3 separate regions of the Homo sapiens genome follow, and all the other regions are linked to region 1. Evidence: promoter capture Hi-C in human tissues and cell types (Jung and others, 2019). All regions are on one chromosome and are shown on one strand. The core of a region is centred on a gene start or on the middle of the fragment in contact, and the rest is flanking DNA. Distances in the headings are between cores, read along the strand shown.

Region 1 (2,700 bases), core at 164-2,663:
AGGCTGGATGTACTAGGAAGAGCTGGCTGAAATCAGTGACTCATAAAGCTGCAAATCGCAAATCGCATGAAAACTTGCGTAGCAATATAATGTTGATAAAAGCACCAGGTACTAGAACATTAGGATGTTTGCAAAGTATACCCAAGCTCTTTAACAGCAAATGCAGTACCAAGAAATATAATTCAAGTGATAGAGATTAATATCCCAAATAAATATTCGGCATGAAGCACTGTGGTACCTACCAACTCAGTGGCTGTGGAACTTCAACTTTCTGACCGTCCACCTCCAGGTCCTCCAATTCCTTAAAATATTTGTTCTTTAAGCAATGGAGAATCTCTTTTGCGTGGCTATTGAAAAATAAGGAAGTTTCAAACTGATCTAAAAAACTAAGTTAATACATTGTATCTTCTTAAATTTAAGACTGCAAGTGTTTTAAAACTAAAACCAACTTTTGCATGGAGAGTAAACATTCTTTAGTCACTACTTTTACACTGTATGCCTTCAAAATTTAAGCAATCCACACTGTTTGAGCCCTAAGAGCAACACTGCATTCCTTCTCTCCTAAGCATATCCTACCGTTAAGTTTTACTTGCGACTCATTTAGAAAGATGTAACTACAAAGATGGAGGGGGGGCGCGGAGGAGGGGAGAACCAAGGGGTTTTATGCATTCTCTATAAATTCTCTTACGTTCCAAAAGGTAAGACCCTCAGCTTCCCTCCTGGAAGATTCCCCAGGAGCCGAATCTTCCTCAGATCTCATTTTCATTTCGTCTTCTAACCTTGCGCCTGCAATACCTCCGTGACCATTTCATTGGACCCTGTGCTCCCCACCTCAATGCTTCCTGAATCCAAACCGCTGAAACGCCACGGTTCTCTGGCACTGTAACACTTGTCGAAGAAAACACCGTCGCCTTTAACCTCCAGCATCCTGGCCCCAACTCCCAAAAAATCAGGCACTGCCTCCCTACCTTTTGTAACCAGTAATTCTTAAAGTGGCCGGGAGCGGCTCCCTGAGAGCGTCCATGAACTGGCCCCACTCGCCCTCGGGCACGATCTTGAGCTCCTGGTAGTAGTGCTCGAACAGCTTGTTCTCCTTGACGATCTCGGGGTAGCCTCCTTCCCAGCCCTGAGGAAGGAAAGAGACGTCTACCCCGAGGCCCAAGGAGCCGCCCCCTCGCCGCCGCCTCGCAGGCCTCGGGGTCCGGGAAGCCCAGGAGGAGCCCCTGGCCCGCCCGCCGGGTCCCGGCTCCTACCGCCTCGCCGCGCTTTCCACCACCCTCGGCGCCATCCTCCGCGTCCTCCGGCCGCTGCTGTTGCTGGAGCCGCCGACCCCGCGACCGCCGCCCCATAGCCCACGCGGCCGCGCACGCAGCACGCAGAAACCGGCCCGCCACGGCCAGAACTCTAGCCCTACACCTCCCGGGACTTCCGGCCGGAAACCAAGGCCCCACGTGTCCGGGCCTGGTCCTTTCGGGGACCTTTGGGGACCGTCCAGGAATAAGCCCAAAGCGCACAACCCGTCTTTCAGAAAAGCGGCGTGACAGGGAAAACAGCGAACAGCTCTAAGGGGAAAAAAATGCTCCAGGAAGCAGCCACAAAGGCGTCTCCGCGCGAAGCGCCCAGGTTTCCCACGCGGGCTCAAGGAGCTCCGCGGACAGCCTGAAGCCGCGCGTGCGCAGAGCGGCGCGGGGTTACTGCGGCCCCGGCGTGGGTGGGGCGCTTGCAGGTCCCTCCCCGCGCAAGTGCTCGCCCCGCCCCCGGGGCCGCACCCACAGCCCCGGCTACCCCGGAGAAGCCTGACTTGAGAACCCTTTCTGCAGAGTCCCGGCAGTGCGGGACTCCGGTAGCCGCCCCTCCGGTAGCCGCCCCTCCTGCCCCCGCGCCGCCGCCCTATATGTTGCCCGCCGCGGCCTCTGGGGCATGGAGCACGCTGCCCAGCCCTGGCGATGGCAACGGCGACGGGGGTGGCGGAGGAGCGCCTGCTGGCCGCGCTCGCCTACCTGCAGTGCGCCGTGGGCTGCGCGGTCTTCGCGCGCAATCGTCAGACGAACTCAGTGTACGGCCGCCACGCGCTGCCCAGCCACAGGCTCCGAGTGCCGGCGCGGGCCGCCTGGGTGGTGCAGGAGCTGCCCTCGCTGGCCCTGCCGCTCTACCAGTACGCCAGCGAGTCCGCCCCGCGTCTCCGCAGCGCGCCCAACTGCATCCTCCTGGCCATGTTCCTCGTCCACTACGGGCATCGGTAACGTCCCCGGCCCCCGGCCCCCTACCCTACTCCCGGCCCGGCGTCCTCTCCGACCCTCCCCTCACTGCCCGGTGCCCTCTCCCCGAAGCCTCCCCCACCCAGATGCCCTCTCCCTGCCAGATCCCCCGGGGCGTCCCCCATCTGCACGGGTGCCCTTCCCCGAGTCCCCCGGCCCCGGGAGTTTGGAAACCAGAAGGGATTCGTCTGGAAAGGGCGGGAAACAAAGGACTGGAAGGGAGTGATGGAAAAAAACATGATGAAACTGATCTGGAAAGAGCCACTCAGTGGTCCTAGGTTTGGTTTCCTTAGCCGGGCGCGGTGGCGCCTGTCTGTGATCCCAGTTACTCGGGAGTCTGAGATGGAAGAATCGCTTGAACCCGAGAGGCGGAGGTTACAGTGAGCCGAGATCTCGCCACTGCCCTCCAGCCTGGGTGACAGAGCGAGACTCTGTCTCAAAA
Region 2 (2,791 bases), core at 28-2,527, 1.0 Mb before region 1:
TGATCACAGGCACTTACCTTTGTTTTGAAAAATTATTATTGACATATTTTTACTTAAAGTGCATACATTTAATCTATGCAGCTTAACCTTAATTAATTTTTAAAGGTAACATATCCATATAAACACAACTTAAAGATTTAGTGTATTTTTGAGTTCCTTCCCAGGATATGCCCCTTGTGGTGAAAACTCCCATGATGGCTTTCCGCTATTTGACCTCAAACCCCACATGGTGGGCAGAATAATGTCCCCAAGGATGTCCATGTCCTAATCTCTGGAACCTGTGAATATGTTATGTTAAGTGGAAAGAGGAATTAAGGTAGCAGATGAAATTGCTAATCAGCTGACTGTAAGAGGGAGATTATCCAGGATTATCTGCGGGGACCAGTGTAATCACAAAGGTCTTTAAAGACGGAAGACGGAGGGAGAGTCAGAGTTGCAGTAATACCCTATGAAAAAGACTCGACTGGCTGCGACTGGCTTTGAAGATAAGAAGAATGCCGGGAGCCAGGAAGTACAGGCAGTGTCTAAAAGCTAGAAAAATAAGAAAATGCATTCTCTTCCAAAGCCTCCAGAAAGGAAGGCAGCCCTGACATCACCTTGATTTTTAGCCAGGAATGCCCATTTTGGACTTTTGACCTCTGGAACTGTAAAAGAATAAATTTGTTTTGTTTCAAGCCATTAAATTTGTGAAAATTTATTACACCAAAAATAGAAAAGCAGAAAACCAGTACACCTCATTTATTAAATTGATCTACTTTTGCTTTCTTGTTGAGGTATGACTTAAATCAAATTATACAAGTCATAAGCATACATTTGATGAGACCTGGCAAAGATAGAGACACCTGTGTAACCCACAGCCCAATCAGACAGAGTATTTCCCTCTTCTCAGAAAGTTCCCTGTGTTAGTCTCTAGCTAGTCCTGCCTCCACCTCCAGAGACAGCTGCTGTTCTGATTTCTATCACCATAAATTAGTTTTGCCTGTTATTGAACTTCTTACAAATGAAATAATAAATCATAAGTATGTATTCTTTGATGTCTGGCTTTGTTTGCTTAGCATAATGTTCCATCCAGTCTCCTGTTGGTGGACATTGGAGGGGTTCCAGTTTTTTGGCTATAATGAATAAAACTGATACAAATATTATTTTACAAGTCATTTCTGGTTGTATCCTTTGATTTTTTTCAGATATGTGCCTCAGAATGAGGTTGCTAAGTTGATGGTGAAAGTATACTTAACCTTTTGAGAAACAGCCAATCACTTTTTCAAAGTGATTGTCCTATATTTTGCATTCCCACCAGCAATGTATGAGAGATCCAGTTGCTCCAAATTCTTGATGACACTTGATGTTGCCAGTCATGTTAATGGCAGCCATTGCAGTGGGTGTAAAGTGATATTTCATTGTGATTCTAACACATCTTCCTGCTAACCCATGATTGCTGAGCTCCTTTCTATGGTTTATTGGCCAGCACATATTTTCTGTTGTGAGTTTTCCTTCAAATCTTTTGCCTCTTTTTAAGATTAGATTGTTTTTACTATTTGTTTTTTTTGGATTTTCATCCCTGGATACATATTCTTTGTCAGATATACATATTGTGAATATTTTCCCCTGCCTTCTCTTGCCTTCTTGTTTTCTTAGCTATGTCTTCTGAAGAGCGTGAGTTTATAATTTTGCTAAAGTTCAATTTATCATTTTGCTTTTTTTTTTTTTGGTTAGTGCTTTATTTAGTGTCCTAAGAGTTATGTTGAAGATGAAAGTGCATATTTTGTTCTAGAAGCTTTATGGTTTCAGCTTCCATTCAAGTCTACAAGCTGTCTTAACTTTTTTATAGAGTATAATGTAGAGGTTAAGGTTTGTTTTTATCTCCATGAATATCTAATTGTCCCAGCACTGTTTGTTGTATCAATACCTTTTTGCATTTAACATCATTTTCAGCCAAAAACTGTGGTTTAGTTATTCCATGCCTGGGCATATGTTAAAAATTTGTACATAAAATAATAAAGTTTCTATTTTGACTAGTGGAATACCTCAGCTGGTTTGAATATAACCAAGAATTATGGAAGTACCATAGCCAATTCCAAGTAAGATTCCGATTCATAGATTTTTAATTCAGCAAGAATATTGCTTTTGCCATGATATTTTGTTCCACCGAAATTTGTATTCACATCATTACACAAAACAAATAATTCTATATTCCATGTGGAATTTTTAGCTGAATATACAATTAACGATAGGGAAATTAACAAAACTGTTTCTCCACCTTCATTAAAATAAGCTTCCAAATGCTTTTCTTTGGCTCCATTAATTACATAAAGTATTCAACAATTATAATGATCTGGTTTTCTATTTGAAGCAACCAATGGTATTGATCTGCATCATCTGTTTGCAAAGATTTTCTGTTATGAAGCCATTTATTAATAGCTATTTCTTCACTTTTTGTACATGCACAAGAAACCTTGAAATTTAAAATAGGCCACTATAATTTAGAAAATAGTTATTTCGGCCGGATGCAGTGGCTCATGCCTGTAATCCCAGCACTTTAGGAGGCCGTGGCAGACAGATCACCTGAGGTCAGGAGTTCGAGACCAGCCTGACCAACATGAAGAAACACCATCTCTACTAAAAATACAAAAAATTAGCCGGGCATGGTGGCACATGCCTGTAATCCCAGCTACTGGGGAGGCTAGGGTGGAAGAATTGCTTGAACCTGGGAGGCAGAGGTTGCGGTGAGCCAAGATCACGCCATTGCACTCCAGCCTGGGCAACAAGAGTGAAACTCCATCTCAAAAAAAAA
Region 3 (2,933 bases), core at 265-2,764, 1.1 Mb after region 1:
GGAAATTCCATTTTATTAATAGTTTGTTGAGTTTTTTCATTGTGAAATAGTTTGGATTTTCTCAAATCCATTTTCTGCAGCTATTGAGATGATAATGTGTTTTTTCTTCTATTCTATTAATGTGACCTATTAATAGGTTGACTGATATTCAGATATTAAAGCAACCTTACATTTCTTGGGTAAACCCCACTTGGTATTGATATACAAACCTTTTTACTTGTGGCTGGATTCAATTGACTAATATTTTGTTAAGGATTTTTGTATCCACATTCATAAGAGATACTGATTTCTACTTTTTTTTGTGATGTCTTTGGTATTGGTGTCAGGGTGATACTGGCTTCAGAACGAGTTAAGAACTGTTCCCTTCCCTTCCATTTTATGGAATAGTTTGTAAAAAATGGATATTAATTCTTCTTTCAAAGTTTTGGGCCAGGCATGCTAGCTCACACCTGTAATCCCAGCACTTTGAGAGGCAGAGGCAGGTGGATTGCTTGAGCTCAAGAGTTTGAGATCAGCCTGGACAACATGGCAAAACCCCTGGGCAAAGGGGCAAAACCCCCTCTCTACCAAAAATACAAAAATTGGCCATACATGGCAGCACAGGCCTATTGGTCCCAGCTACTTGGTAGGCTGAGGCAGGAGGATGGCTGTAGCCCGGGAAGTAGAGGCTGCAGTTAGCTGTGATTGCACCACTGCACTCTTGCTTGGGTGACAGAGCAAGACTCTGTCTCAAAAAAAAATTAAAAATGAAATGAAAGTTTGGGAAAATTTATCAGTGAAGCCATCTGCACATGAATTTTTCTTTGTAAGTAGATTTTTTTAATTACTAAGTTAATCTCTTTACTTTTTATAGGTAAGCCTATTTATATTTTTCATTTCTTCTTTAGTCAGTTTTGTGTGTCACAACATACTCTTAAGAATGATCATCCCTGCTTAAATGGGCATGTCATATGTTACAGCAAATCAAAAACAGATAGTCAGCTCTATTAGTAACACTCTATTCCTTTATCAGCTCTTAATAGATTTTGACATTTGAGGAAGGAGTAAGCAGTGGTCATCAGATACATTCACAAAAAAATGTTAACAACTCTTCTGGGATGCTCTTCACTGTGTCCAGCATATTATTATAAAATAGGAAGAGTCACATTTTAATACCCTTATTGTTTTTTAGGTCTATTTGACCTGACTTCAGAATGTCTCTGTCAACTCTCTTCATGGTGGAATAATTATTCAAAAAAAAAGAAACATTGAAATGCATTTTAGGAAACAAAGGCCTATATAATTCATTGTAGTACAAGAATCCATTATTTAAACTCTGATTCACAAAATAAACCTTATGATTTGTTAGTAGATTAACACATAATTGTCTCTAAATCAGTTGATATGTGTTTAATTGAAGGCCAATATAATTCCATAATCCCTTGTTCCATTTATAAAAAAAATTAGAGTATGGCATAACCCAAGGAATATATACATATTTGCTCAATACTTCTAATGATAAATACTTCAAGTAAAAACTTTTTTTTTGCTATTTTCAAAAGAAAAAGGAAGGAATTTAGGGAAGTCACTGTTACAGTTCTTCCCTAGGTTTCTACCTAACTATTAATGATATTATAGTGCCCAGAGAAAGCTTTATCTAGTTAATGGATTAGGCTCCAATAAAGAAAACAAATTGTCTTAGGTATTTCCGAAAGGGAATTTAATATAAAGAAGTATTTACAGAATGAGAGAAAAGCTGATAAACCAAATAGGGGATAGTATACTAGCCATGATATTAGCAACAGAAGAAACCTCCTACCACCTCTAGACTTGTAAGGAAACAGGATAGAGGTGTTGTTAGCAGAAACCCAGGCTCCTGGGCTTTCTTGCAGATGCTAGAACCATGCAAAGCTAGAGCTAGACGAAGGTAAGGTGTTGTCTGACAAGGATCTGGAATTTTAGAAAAGGCAGGAGTTGCAGGCCATTCAGAAAATGGCTGCTAAGTAGAGAGTAAAAGAAATACCCAATCTCTTTCTTTCCATTGCCTTCCAGTCTCCCACCAGTTCTCATCGGCCAAACTAGCTAGAGACATTTGACAAAGAGTCTGTGAAATGAAGTCTCTAAGAGATGGATAGAAATATACTTGAAAGCAAACAAGAAATTACCAACACACTTAGTGACAAATTTTCCTAAATTTGTTAAAATCCATCACTCTCCAAAGGCAAGAATCTCTATGAACATCAAGCAGGATAAATATGAAGGAAACCACATGTGGCATATTATAGTCACACTTCTGGAAACCAGAAAAAAGAAAAACATTAAATGCACCCACAAAAAAAGACATTACATACAAGGGATCAATGACAGAATAAATGGCTGCCTTCTTATCAGAAATGATGGAAAGCAAAAGACACTTGAACATCTTTAAACCACTGATAGGAACATGATGAACCCTGAATTAAACATTCAACTCAAATATTCCTTTTCAAAGTCGAGATGAAATACATTCTGCAAGTAAAAAAAGAGGGAATTCATCACCAGCAAACCTACAAGATATGCTAATGGAAGTTCCTCAAGCTAAAGTGAAATTATGTCAGAAGGAAAAAGGAATCTAAGGAAGGAATGGAAAGTATTGGACATGCTTACTTTATGAGAGAGTATAAAAGACAATGTATTTATTTTTCATGTCTCTAAAAGACAACAGGTGATCTGATGCAAAAACAATGACATGTGACATATACTGAGAATTCTTATGAGAATGGGATTAAATTGTTGTGTCATGTATTTTTTGAAGTGGCACAATATTAATGCCAAATAACTAATGATAAGTTAGGACAGCGTGTATTAAGCCTTGAGCAATCACTAAAAATAAAATAAGGATAGCTAAAAAGCCAAGAGGAAATGAAAAATACTTTTAAATATTTAATTAATAAAATAATAATGGAAGAACAGAA

Evidence for each region. Contacts are between HindIII fragments. The study calls those that stand out against the background at their distance.
Region 2: a fragment that was not itself captured here is called in contact with the fragment with the promoter of NSUN2 in region 1 in 1 of the 25 tissues and cell types used here (dorsolateral prefrontal cortex).
Region 3: a contact is called between a fragment that was not itself captured here and the fragment with the promoter of NSUN2 in region 1, in 1 of the 25 tissues and cell types used here (dorsolateral prefrontal cortex).

What each region holds. Positions count from the first base shown.
Region 1 is chr5:6,631,631-6,634,330 of GRCh38, forward strand. It overlaps NSUN2 (NOP2/Sun RNA methyltransferase 2), which reads right to left and starts at 1,414. Exons shown (of 19, transcript NM_017755.6): 1 at 1,254-1,414; 2 at 969-1,126; 3 at 243-347. The coding sequence starts at 1,349. It overlaps SRD5A1 (steroid 5 alpha-reductase 1), which reads left to right and starts at 1,810. Exons shown (of 5, transcript NM_001047.4): 1 at 1,810-2,239. The coding sequence starts at 1,947. RefSeq lists enhancers at 1,510-2,021, 2,022-2,533 and a silencer at 1,657-2,046. The HindIII fragment of the contact is 6,073 bases long and covers 1-2,700 here.
Region 2 is chr5:5,616,268-5,619,058 of GRCh38, forward strand. No RefSeq gene overlaps it. Among named protein-coding and RNA genes, the nearest start is that of ICE1, 190 kb to the left of the region's middle. The HindIII fragment of the contact is 3,939 bases long and covers 1-2,791 here.
Region 3 is chr5:7,735,489-7,738,421 of GRCh38, forward strand. The region is part of intron 14 of ADCY2 (adenylate cyclase 2); the gene reads left to right. Among named protein-coding and RNA genes, the nearest start is that of CFAP90, 110 kb to the right of the region's middle. The HindIII fragment of the contact is 7,857 bases long and covers 1-2,933 here.